2 separate regions of the Homo sapiens genome follow, and region 1 is linked to region 2. The links are contacts of gene promoters, found by promoter capture Hi-C in blood cells and fetal thymus (Javierre and others, 2016). All regions are on one chromosome and are shown on one strand. The core of a region is centred on a gene start or on the middle of the fragment in contact, and the rest is flanking DNA. Distances in the headings are between cores, read along the strand shown.

Region 1 (6,288 bases), core at 758-3,257, 2.2 Mb before region 2:
CTGAAGACTCAGCCAGGGTGGCAGACCACACACATAGATTGGCATCAATCTACTCAGCTGCATGACTTCCTCCAACTGGGCCCACAACAACCTGCCTGCAGGAGTGAAAAGGCAGACAAAGCCAGGCTAAACTTGAAGACTAGCAGTAGTTGTGGTGGGAAGACAGGAAGGTGTGGAGGCCTAAGGTAATGGGGACAGGAGAATATACGATGACCAAAAACCTGGAAATAACCCACACAGAATTTACTTAACCTAATTTAGTAGCTATATGATAAAAATGTTTTATCTTGGCCGGGTGTGGTGGCTCATGCCTGTAACCCTAGCATTTTGGGAGGCCAAGGCAGGCGGATCACGAGGTCAAGGAATCGAAACCATCTTGGCCCAAGTGGTGAAACCCTGTCTCTACTAAAAATACCAAAATTAGCTGGGCGTGGTGTCGCGTGCCTGTAGTCCCAGCTACTCGGGAGGCTGAGGCAGGAGAATCACTTGAACCCAGGAGGCAGAGGTTGCAGTGAGCCGAGATCACGCCATTGCACTCCAGTCTGGGCGACAGAGTCAGACTCCGTCTCAAAAAAAAAGAAAAAAATGTTTTATCTTTGACAAACACACCATTGCCAAGTAGAGGGGCCTACTTATTTTTTTGTTTAAGCTTATACTCATTGGGTTTTTAAAAAATTATTTTAAGTGATATGTTCATTGTAAAAGAAAAAAAAACCTATAAATACATAGAAATATATATTTTTGAGACGGAGTGTCACTTTTGTTGCCCCGGCTGGAGTGCGATGGCATGATCTCAGCTCACAGCAAACTCCGCCTCCTGGGTTCAAGCGATTCTCCTGCCTCAGCCTCCCGAGTAGCTGGGATTACAGGTGCCCGCCACCACACCTGGCTAATTTTTTTTGTTGTATTTTTAGTAGAGTCGGGATTTCACCATGTGGGTCAGGCTGGTCTCAAACTCCTGACCTCAGGTGATCCACCTGCCTTGGCCTCCCAAAGTGCTGGGATTACAGGTGTGAGCCACCGTGCCAGGCCTAAAAATATTTTTTAAATACATCACTTGTCAACCAACCACACAGAAATAACCGTTACGTTATACTTCTTTTCACTTTATACTTCTCCCTATGGGTACATTTATTAAAATCTGAAATGTGGCCGGGTATAGCAGCTCACATCTGTAATCCCGGAACTATGGGAGGCCAAGGCAGGTGGATCACCTGCGGTCAGGAGTTCAAGACCAGCCTTGCCAACATGATGAAACCCCATCTCTACCTAAAATACAAAATTAGCTGGGCAGGGTGACACATGCCTGTAATCCCAGCTACATGGGAGGCTAAGGCAGGAGAATTGCTTGAACCTGGGAGGCAGAGGTTGCAGTGAGCCAAGATGGCGCCATTGTACTCCAACCTGGGCAACAAGAGCAAAACTCCGTCTCAAAAAAAAAAAAAAAAAAAAAATTGAAATGATGGTGTTTACACCATGGTATATATTTTTGTATGCCATGAAATTATTTGCTTGTAAAAGCAATTTAAAAGTCACTGTATGTTCACTAGAAACAGATTGAAAGGAAAAAAAAGTCACTCTATGAAAATCTATGTAAAATGTTAGGTCTCACTATGTTTTGAAGACAAACCATATCAGTAGGAACTTTGTCTTTTACCTAATTTGTAAAATAGGTAATACAATGTACGTTCTTAAATCCTCTTAAACAGTATATAATAGACTATTTGTCACGTTCTATATCTTTAAAATTCTATATATAATAGATTATGTTTATATTATATTGTTAAAAGTATTCCACTGATAATTATTTCAGTGAGTTTCAATACTTACCTGTTCTTCTAACTGCATTTTACTTACTGTCCTCTGTTCTATGAGTTTATCAAGTTTCTTTAAAGATTTAAGGTCATTTCCAACTTCCTTTTCTATGAATGCAGACACATAAGAAGGGAGATCACCATTATCTGTACCTTCACTGACTTGTTTACTTCCAATAAGAACTGTAACATTTATGTCACCTACAACAAAAGAATAACAATTACTCAACGCCACTAAGTACTATGGAGTTAAAGAAAATATAAAACATATAAAAGCAGTTTATCTGCCTTCAAAAGTTAATAATTTTGCCAGGCACGGTGGCTCACACCTGTGATCCCAGCACTTTGGGAGGCTGAGGCAGGTGCATCACCTGAGGCCAGGAGTTTAAGACTAGCCTGGCAAACACGGCGAAATCCCGTCTCTACTAAAAATACAAAAATTAGCCAGGCGTGGGGGCACAGGCCTGTAGTCCCAGCTATTCGGGAGGCTGAGGCACGAGAATCCCTTGAACCCAAGAGGCAGAGGTTGCAGTGAGCCAAGATCACACCACTGCACTCCAGCCTGGGCGACACAGACAGACTCTGTATCAAAAAACAAAACCAAAACAAAGCGCCACTGCACTCCAGCCTGGGCGACAGAGACTCTGTATCAAAAAACAAAACCAAAACAAAACAAAGTTAATAATTTAAAGAACAACACACACAGACAAATGCCCAGAAGAATAGCTCTAAAGCACTCTATCAAACAACTACTGCAAAATGCTTAAGAGCTGAGGGAAGTATTAAAGGAAAAATTCCTAAAGTGTGATCCAGTAACCACAGGTTTCAATAGACAAGGAATAATACCTTTTCAAAATGTGTAAGGAACCAGTAGTATGGTCTAGGGCAACACCAAAAGAAGACTCTTGTTTTAAAGTGTTTTTAAAAAGACCGGGCGCAGGGGCTCACACCTGTAATCCCAGCACTGTGGGAGGCCAAGGCAGGAGGATCACTTGAGCCCAGAAGTTCTAGACCAGCCTAGGCAACAAAGCAAGACTTCATCTAACAAAATTAGCCAGGAATGGTGGAACACACCTGTAGTCTCAGGTGGGCTGAGGTGGGAGGATTGCTTGAGCAGCCTGGGAGATGGAGGCTGCAGTGAGCCATGATCTCACTACTACATTCCAGCCTGGACAGCAGAGCAAGACCTCATCTCTTAAAAACAAACAAACAAACAAACAAAAAAGTAAAAAAGGTTTGGCTGGGCGAGGTGGCTCAGGCCTGTAATCTCAGCACTTTGGGAGGTTGAGGCAGGCAGATCACAAGGTCAGGAGTTCGAGACCAGCCTGGCCAATATGGTGAAAACCTGTCTCTACTAAAAATACAAAAATTAGCTGGGCATGGCGGTGCACGCTTATAGTCCCAGCTACTCGGGAGGCTGAGGCAGAAGAATCGCTTGAACCCGGGAGGCGGAGGTTGCAGTGAGCCGAGATCACGCCACTGCACTCCAGCCTGGGCAACAGAGTGAGACTCTGCCTCAAAAAAAAAAAAAAAAAAGGTTTTTAAGCTTCAAATGTCATCGATGTCATTGTACAAAGATATCTTTGTCAGAAACAGAAAAAAGAAAATATGAGAGAACAAATTACTAGGAAAAAATCAAAATGACAAATGCAACCACTAAATAGTATAAAGTGAGATTCTTTCCATGGCAAATAAACTACCTGTTTTGTGACATTTAATAAGTCCAATACACATTAGGCTTATTAATATTAATATCTAAATAATGATATGCCTAAGTGCAAAATGTAAATGTCAGATATTGGTCAACTATTTATGTAAAGATTAACAGAATATATACCAATGTTTTATACAGAGTATGTTCCTGTCTCCACCCCTACACCCCAACAAACAAAATTTCCTTTGTTCTACTTAACTTATATGAATTAAATTAAAAGATTTTTCACATGCTGTGAGAATCAGGAGGTGGTACTGACCTTTTCCCCCTTTCCTGTTCAGTGCAAGATCCAGAACCCAAGCTATACATTGTGCCTTCCCAGAGCAATTTTAAATTGACAATTTAGAGGGTAGGAGAGGCAATATTAACATAACACTATGCCTCAATTTTCCAACTAGAAAACAAATTGTAACATTTGCCCCAGCCTATATCTCAAGGTTATAAATGGGACTATATAATACAAATTATATATTAATTATACTATATAATTATATATAATATTAACGTATAATAATCTACTATTATGTACAGAACTCACAATGCCTTTTTTAAATCTTAAATAAAACAAGTGATTTGTGTGGTGTATCTGCAGATAAATGGAGGCAGGAAATGTTTTGTGAATGCTAAAGTTGCTGTATCTTAGGGAGGAAATTCTACCTTCATTTTTTAAAAAAAATTACACCCACTGAGCACAGTGGCTCATGCCTATAATCCCAGCACTTTGGAAGGCCGAGGACGGTGGATTGCCTGAGGTCAGGAGTTCAAGACCAGCCTAACCAAAATGGTGAAACCCTGCCTCTACTAAAAATACAAAAATTAGCCGGGTGTTTGGCGGGCACCAGTAATCCCAGCTACTGAGGAGGCCGAGGCAGGGGAATTACTTGAACTCAGAGGCGGAGCTTGCAGTAAGGCGAGATCGCGCCACTGCACTCCAGCCTGAGAGACAGAGTGAGACTAAGTCTCAAAAAAAAAAAAAATTACACCCTTGATGTGTAACCATTCAAATGTGGCATAGTACATTCTTAGTGAAATGACATTCTTCAAAATGACACACCGGTGGTTTGGGAGGTTTTTATGTGTCTCCTTTTCTATTTTTTGTAAAGAGCACTCCTAACTGCAAAGCAGTTTGAGCTGTGGAAAGAGGAACAAGGTCAAAGTCCTTGATATGATAGTCTACATCTATTATTTTATTAAAATGACAGCTCAGTAGGCATCAGACTACTTTCCAGGCATCTGAATGAGGCAAAGGTGGAAAATGGAAAGGGAAGGGTTTAACTGAGAGATACAAGGCACTCTGAAATCCTTCAAGAAAAAGGAGCTGAGATGTGGCAGTTATGACAGTCATGTGCTATGGACTGCTCAGAGCCTTCTTTCTGAGGCAGATTCTATCAGCCGCTAATGTTAAGGGCAAATCTTACTCCTAAGGGCCATGTGCTAATGTGGGCACCGTTTTTCTTACTGCTACACATTCCCAACTGTTTGCCACAGTCAAAAGAACCAAAAATCCCAATAGCAGAGCTATCACATGCTTTTCCCCTTCCTCTCCCAAAAAATGTCACTTCAAAGGTCCCTAAAGAGCCCTTGATTTGCAATAACCTGCCATCAAAGTAAAATGGCAAAAGTCCACAACCCTGACATATACTCCCGTACTAGGGAGGAAATGGTGGTACTGACCTTTTCCCCCTTTCCTGTCCAGTCCAAGATCCAGAACCCAAGTTATCCGTTGTGCTCTTGCCAGAGCAATTTTAAATTGCCAATTTACTGAAGGTGAACTAAACAACTGTCATTTGCCTCCTTTGAACCCAATTAGGGTGGTGGTCGTCTGTCCTAGATCATGGGCCCCTCCAAATTCCTGATGCTTAGTAAGTTGATGTTTCATTAAAATGACAGGCAGGCCCCAATTATTCTGAGTACTGTATGATAGGCAGACTTCCAGCGAAAACACTCTAGTCCCTGTACTAGGTATGGATCGGGAAGTGCTCTTCTCCAAAGCATCCCATATTTTACAATTTTAGAAAGACAAAAATATGTGTATCATGGTCATCAGTATTACCATATAAGCATATTGTGCAGAAAACGGTACTGCATCTAAAAGATAGGCAAAGAACCTTTCTATATTGCAGACCCTGGAAGGCTGAGTTTGGGCGGGAAGAAAAAGCTAAGGTGTTTGGAGCTGGCTTACTTTTCTCCTCGAGGTTCTTCCTTTCGTCACCACTTTCAGAGCAGCACTAGAAGAAGAACAGATGTGACAAGCACATTAAGATTAAAGTCGTGGATGGAAAGCATACGGGGCTCCCAAAGGGCACCCACTGGAGGCAAGAGAGGTTCCAGACGCTCTCCCACTTTCTGAGCGACCAGGGCCGTCCGAATCAGGTACCTCAAAGTGCCACTGTCCTGGTGCCACCGCCACCTTCCCAGGAGGTGTGTGTCACCTCCGCAGGACCTGGAGTTACCTTGCCTGCTCACTAGAGCCACCTCCCTAGAGAAATCTGTCATCTCACCAGGGCCGCCAAAGCCACTTCACGGGGACTACCGCCTCCTCTAGGAGGTCTTACAAGGGCCTCTAATCTAAGCCGCAGGAAGCACCTTCACAAGCTTACAGGGCCACCGCACCGGGACTATCTCCCCCGGGAGGTCTGTGCCACCTCAATGGGCCACCAATGTCCCCTCCCAGGGACGCCAGGGCCGTCTCACCGGGGCTGCAGGAGAGGCGCCGATCTCGCCGGCTGGTAGCATCTCGCCTCCGCGCGAGTCCTCGGC
Region 2 (6,157 bases), core at 1,743-4,242:
TCATCCTCTTTGGTCTTCCGCTGATCGGCACCGAGGTAATCCGGCATTTTAGCAGCTCCAAAAGCCTCCGCTCCTTAATGATTACACAGCACCTTCCTTGCTTCCGGTGGTGTCTTCCCTTTCCCTTCCCCACCGGAAGTAAATTGGGCTCAGACAGACCCCTTTATGCAGTGCTTCAGAGTCCGGACAGAGCCCTGGGGAAACGCTTTGGCACGCTGGTTTTTGGACTGATTACCTGTGAGAAGGAAACTTTACAGTGTTTGTAAAACGCCTGGCATATTAGACACAATAAGTAGTGGCCACATCTACAAATATAGTGAAGGTAATCTATTTCTGGTAAAGAGTTAATATCCAGAATATATAAAGAACTCCTACCACACAAGAAAACAACCTGATTTTTTAAGTGGGCAAATAACCTGAATAAACATTGCTCCAAAGAAGATATACAAATGGACAACATCACTGTTAGGAAATGCAAATCAAAACCACAGTTGGATGCCACCACATACCTATTAAGATAGCTATTATTAAAAAACAAGCAAAAACAAAACAGAAAATAAGTGTTGGAAAGGATGACCCTTGGGTCCAGCCAACCCTTGCATGTGCTGCTGGATAAAATGGAATCCTGGTGCACTGTTGATGTAAATGTAAAATGATAAAATGGTGCAACTGCTGTGGGAAACAGTATGATTGATTCCTCAGGAAATTAAAAATAATTACCATGCCACCTAGCAATTCGATTTCTGGATGTGTATCCAAAAGAACTGAAAACAGGATCTCAAAGAGATATTTGTACATCCATGTCCATAAGCAGCATTAGTCATGATACCCATAAGGTGGAAGCAACCCAAGTGTCCATCTACATATGAATGGATAAACAAAATGTGATACACGCATGCGCGCTCACACACACACACACACACACACACACACACACACATTATTCAGCCTTAAAAAGGAATGAAATTCTAGTATAAGCTACAACACAGATGAACCTTGAAGACATTATGCTAAGTGAATAAGTCAGTCACAAAAAAGACAAATACTATATGATTCCACAAATATGAAGTACCTAGAGGTGTCAAATTCCTAAAGACAAAGTAGAAGGATGGTTTCCAGTGGACAGTTTTTTCCACTGGCATAGTTTCAGTTTTGTAAGAGATTAAATGGGTATAGAGTTTCAGTTTTGTAAGATAAAAATAGTTTTGTAGGGTGGTTACACAATAATGTGAATGTACTTAACATTACTGTAAACTTAAAAACGGTGAAGATCGTAAATTTCATGTTATGTGTGTTTTAGCACAATTTTTTTAAAAAACAAAACCCCCGACCGGGCACCGTGGCTCACCCCTGTAATTCCAGCACTTTGGGAGGCTGAAGCAGGCAGATCATGAGGTCAGGAGTTGGAGACCAGCCTGGCCAACATGGCTAAACCCCGTCTCTACTACAAATACAGAAATTAGCTGGGCGTGGTGGCACGCACCTGTAATCCCAGCTACTCGGGAGGCTGAGGCAGGAGAATCGCTTGAACCTGGGAGGCAGAGATTGCAGTGAGCCGAAATCAGGCCACTGCACTCCAGCCTGGGCGACAGAGCAAGCCTCTGTCTCAGAAAAGAAAACAACAAAAAAACAAAAACCCATGTTAGAGTTAATGGTAAAATTGAATGGGAGGAGGTGTGAGGAAAAAAATATATTAATATGAAGAAAGTGGAGTCAGGTTACTTTGCACCTTGGAGCATGTTTTAACAGTGGTTGCATTAGTAGGGATCAGGAAGAGGTTTTGGGGCAGAAGATTAGTTCAATTTTTTTTTTTTTAAAGACGGGGTCTCACTGTTACCCAGGCTGGAGCGCAATGGTGTGATCTCAGCTCACTGCAACCTCCACCTCCCGGCCTCAACGATCTTCCCACCTCAGCCTCCCTTAGTTCAATTTTTGAAAAGTCAGTTTTGAAGTGACAATTTTATCATGCAGCAGATATACAGACCAATTAAATGTATTTAATTGGCCTGGCACAGTGACTCACGCCTCTAATCCCAGAGTTTTGGGAGACTGAGGCAGGAGGATCCCTTGAGGCCAGGAGTTCAAGACCACCTTGGGCAACATAGTGAGACCCTGTCTCTACAAAAAAAAATATACATATATATATATATAATATATTTAAAAACTTTAATTGTGAAAATATAATGAAATTAGTAAGTTATTTTCTAATTTACTAATTTCTGGTGGTCCTTGCTAAAGAGTGGCATATCAAGTTTATTTTATTGAACCTGTTTCAGATACTGCTGTTGGGGGTGAGCCTTTACCCACTGTTTGTTTTTGCTAGTTTTTGCTTTTGACTGCAGTCTTAGAAGGAAGCATATAGTAGGAATACAATTGATTTTATTATACATTAAAAAATTAAGTCCCAGAGTCCTATAATTGGGAATATCTTGAATAAAAACTTCATTAGAACAAGGTAAAAATATTGCTGGCCTTGGAATACAATCTAACACACTAGAGAGAGGTTTCTTCTCCAAGCGAGTATTAAAAGATATAATGCAGGTAAATTAGTAATAGCACGACAAATATTAGCTGCTATTATCATCATCAAGTTAAACACAAATGTATCACAAATACACGTACGTAATTCTCCGCAAATGTATATACTAGTCGTCGATACTGGTTCATACAGGTATTTTCATTTTTTACTTAAAAGTATAGCGCTCCTGGGAAAATCACTGATTAGGTTCAGATTAATACATAAAGCAGTAAGAACTTAAAGATAATATAAAAAGAACTGCTTTTAAAGGTTATGTTCTATGTATTGCACTGGGACGTGGAATATAATCCTTTTTACAGGAAAACTGATGCGCCTAGGAACCATTCTCTCGTGCGACTTGGTCTCCAGCCGGATCTCAGTCAGTATAGAACTAGGTTACCGCACACGTTGGCGGGGGTGGGAGGGTGTGAGACTGGCCTCCACACCACGAAAGATCCATCCCGGAAGTGCTTACTGGTCGTCTCCATGCGCCGGTTCCTGGGCGTCTTAGAGCCAAGGCGCGAGGCTCGGAGTGAGAGGTAGAGCTGGAGGGGACCCTAAGCGCCCTCCGCCCGGGACGTGAGCCGCTGCGCCCACCGGGCTAGACCCGGCGCCATCATGCTGCTTCTGCCAAGCGCCGCGGACGGCCGGGGCACCGCCATCACCCACGCTCTGACCTCTGGTAAGTGCCCACCCAACCTCGGTTCCTTCTCACCTCAGCTGCCCCTGCCTCAGTCCTCCGCCTCGGCAACCCTGGGCTCTCTCTACCCTTGACCCTGGCGACTAGCCCCGGGGCCGTATGGGGCCGTGACGAGTGCCTTTTTGCTCCGTGTTTTAAAGTAATCCTACCCTAGATTAGAAGGAAGGAGGGTGAGGGGTGCCTTCCTTTTGCTCCTACCGTTGCTTCCTCCTCTCGCCGCTGCTGACTCATGGATTGGGCTGAGCATTTCGGGACGGAACCCCCCAGCACCCCAGAAAGGTTCTCATAAGCATCTCCTTGCCTACGGTGGAAAGACTACGCGCAGCGAGCACCCCACGTGCCTGGGGTCGTACAAAGCTTTGCTACTGGCGCTCTCTTAAACAACTTTCTCCCTCTCTACGTTTGCTCCGGCCTTGTTTTTTAAATGTCACAACTCAGACACCGCTCCTCATACTCGGTGTTCAAAGACTGTGCTGCTGAAAAGATCCGCGTAGACTTTGAAAGGCAGTTATTACAAGTGAAACTTGTCCTGCTGCTGTAGGTTTTAGTTTTATGGCCCAGGACAGTCATGAGTATTGTAAACTTAAGAGTCTTCAGGTCCAGTGATCTACAGTAATTCCCATAGCCAGTCACATAGGCGCTTGTTGAATGTGATTTTGAACATAACCCATGGCACGTGTTGCATTTATGTGTCTCCGTGTGCCTCTTACAACTAGAGCAAAAGGCTTAAAAGGCAGTGTTCTTAAAAGCCACACACCCATACTACACAGGTAGTACCTTTTTGACAGTGTTTTAATCCTCTCCTGTGTAAGGTGGAGGAAATCTTAAAATAAGTTGTTCAGGGATTTTCCTTTTTTGAATTGCTAGTATACACATGTACAGTGATTTACCCCCACTTCCCAGGAATAGATGATACCTTTACTACAAGTTTGTAATTTCAGAGAGTTTCTGTGGTCTCATTCAAGCTTCCTAGGAACTGAATGAGATAAATAGGTATTGTTCCCATTTTACAGGTGAAGACATCCTGATTCATTTCAGGTCACATAGCCACTGTCAGACCTAGTCTAAAACCCAGAGTGTCTGGTTTCAGATTGAGAGCTTGTTCCACTACAGCTTAGCTGCATTAGTAAATTCCCATTTGCTGCTTGGAAAATTGCTTTCAGGACAAATTCTTGTTAGTGAATTCTTAAAATTTTTAAGAGCTATATTCAAGATTTTAATAATTAAGACAGTTTGAGTTGTCTGGGTGCGGTGGCTCACGTCTATAATCCCAGCACTTTGGGAGGCCGAGGCAGGTGGATCACCTGAGGTCAGCAGTTCGAGACCAGCCTGGCTAACAGGGTGAAACCCTGTCTCTACTAAAAATACAAAAAAGTAGCTGGGCGTGGTGGCGGGCGCCTATAATCCCAGCAACTTGGGAGGCTGAGGCAGAAGAATCGTTTGAACCCGGGAGGCGGAGGTTGCAGTGAGCCGAGATTGCGCTATTGCACTACAGCCTGGACAACAAGAGCAAAACTCCGTCTCAAAAAATAAAAAGATAGTTTGAGTTGTTTTTAGATTTTTTATTTTTGGTGAGGCTAGCTCTTCGTGACAATTTATCACTATTTATTACTTTATTAAAATTATTTGTCTAGGCCGGGCGCGGTGGCTCACGCCTGTAATCCCAGCATTTTGGCAGGCCGAGGTGGGTGGATCACGAGGTCAGGAGATCAAGACCATCCTGGCTAATATGGTGAAACCCCGTCTTTACTAAAAATGCAAAAAATTAGCCGGGGGTGGTGGCGGGTGCCTGTAGTCCCAGCTACTCGGGAGGCTGAGGCAGGAGAATCGCTTGAACCCGGGAGGCGGAGCTTTCAGTGAGCCAAGATCGCGCCATTGCACTCCAGCCTGGGTGACAGAGCAAGACTCCGTCCCAAAAAAAAAAAAAAAATTGTCCAGGTGGGTGCAGTGGCTCACGCCTGTAATGCCAACACTTTGGGAGGCCGAGGCAGGCAGATCACCTGAGGTCGGGAGTTCGAGACCAGGCTGACCAACATGGAGAAACCCCATCTCTACTAAAAATACAAAATTAGCTGGGCATGGTGGCGCATGCCTGTAATCCCAGCTGCTTGGAAGGCTGAGGCACAAGAATCACTTGAACCCGGGAGGTGGAGACGGCATTGAGCCGAGATCTCGCCATTGCATTCCAGCCTGGGCAGTAAGAGCAAAACTTCATCTCAAAAAAAAAAAAAAGTAAAAAAATAAATAATTTGTCTAAAAGTAAAGTAGTTTGCAACATTTCTTCCTGTTCCTCACCTTACTCATATCCCCAAAAAAGTACTGATTTATCATTGACATTACTGAGTTTTTTTTGTTTTGTCAGATAACTGGAAGAGGTTGATTAAATACTCTTTAATACTAGGAAAGGATAATTTCTTGCTAACCCTCATGTAAACTGGATGACTGCAATTATTTTCGTAGTCGGTGGTTTTAAAAGTATATGCTGGTATCACTGTTTTGATTTTATTTCCTGAAAAAATTAATTGCCTTGAAACATATTTATTCCATGCGATACACTGAAGCCTCTCTTAACACTTTCAATCACAGCCTCTACACTCTGTCAAGTTGAACCTGTGGGAAGATGGTTTGAAGCTTTTGTTAAGAGGAGAAACAGAAATGCTTCTGCCTCTTTTCAGGAACTGGAGGATAAGAAAGAGTTATCCGAGGAATCAGAAGATGAAGAATTGCAGTTGGAAGAGTTTCCCATGCTGAAAACACTTGATCCCAAAGACTGGAAGGTATTTAATATCTGAATATTTTGTTCAGTCAGATGCTTTGTTAGACATAGACAATTTTCTTATGAGTTTTCCATTAATAAACATGTTTTAAGATGATTCAGCAAGATAACTATGATTTAGCATCTGTTTATTACTAAGTCTTGAGAGCATTAGCACTAGCCA

Evidence for each region. Contacts are between HindIII fragments. The CHiCAGO score rates a contact against its expected background, and 5 or more counts as called.
Region 1: a fragment that was not itself captured here is called in contact with the fragment with the promoter of DNAJC2 in region 2 in 1 of 17 cell types (naive CD8 T cells); the score reaches 6.2 in naive CD8 T cells.

The regions. Positions count from the first base shown.
Region 1 is chr7:105,532,292-105,538,579 of GRCh38, reverse strand. RINT1 (RAD50 interactor 1) reads right to left here. Exons shown (of 15, transcript NM_021930.6): 1 at 6,223-6,288; 2 at 5,711-5,756; 3 at 1,831-2,015. The coding sequence starts at 6,264. Among named protein-coding and RNA genes, the nearest start is that of RINT1, 3.2 kb to the right of the region's middle. RefSeq lists enhancers at 5,607-6,183, 6,029-6,208, 6,184-6,288. The HindIII fragment of the contact is 2,711 bases long and covers 652-3,362 here.
Region 2 is chr7:103,341,602-103,347,758 of GRCh38, reverse strand. It overlaps DNAJC2 (DnaJ heat shock protein family (Hsp40) member C2), which reads left to right and starts at 2,992. Exons shown (of 17, transcript NM_014377.3): 1 at 2,992-3,200; 2 at 5,805-5,995. The coding sequence starts at 3,137. PSMC2 (proteasome 26S subunit, ATPase 2) reads right to left here and starts at 116. Exons shown (of 12, transcript NM_002803.4): 1 at 1-116. The coding sequence starts at 47. It also overlaps a transcript of PMPCB not described here. RefSeq lists an enhancer at 2,810-3,049. The HindIII fragment of the contact is 5,590 bases long and covers 1-3,577 here.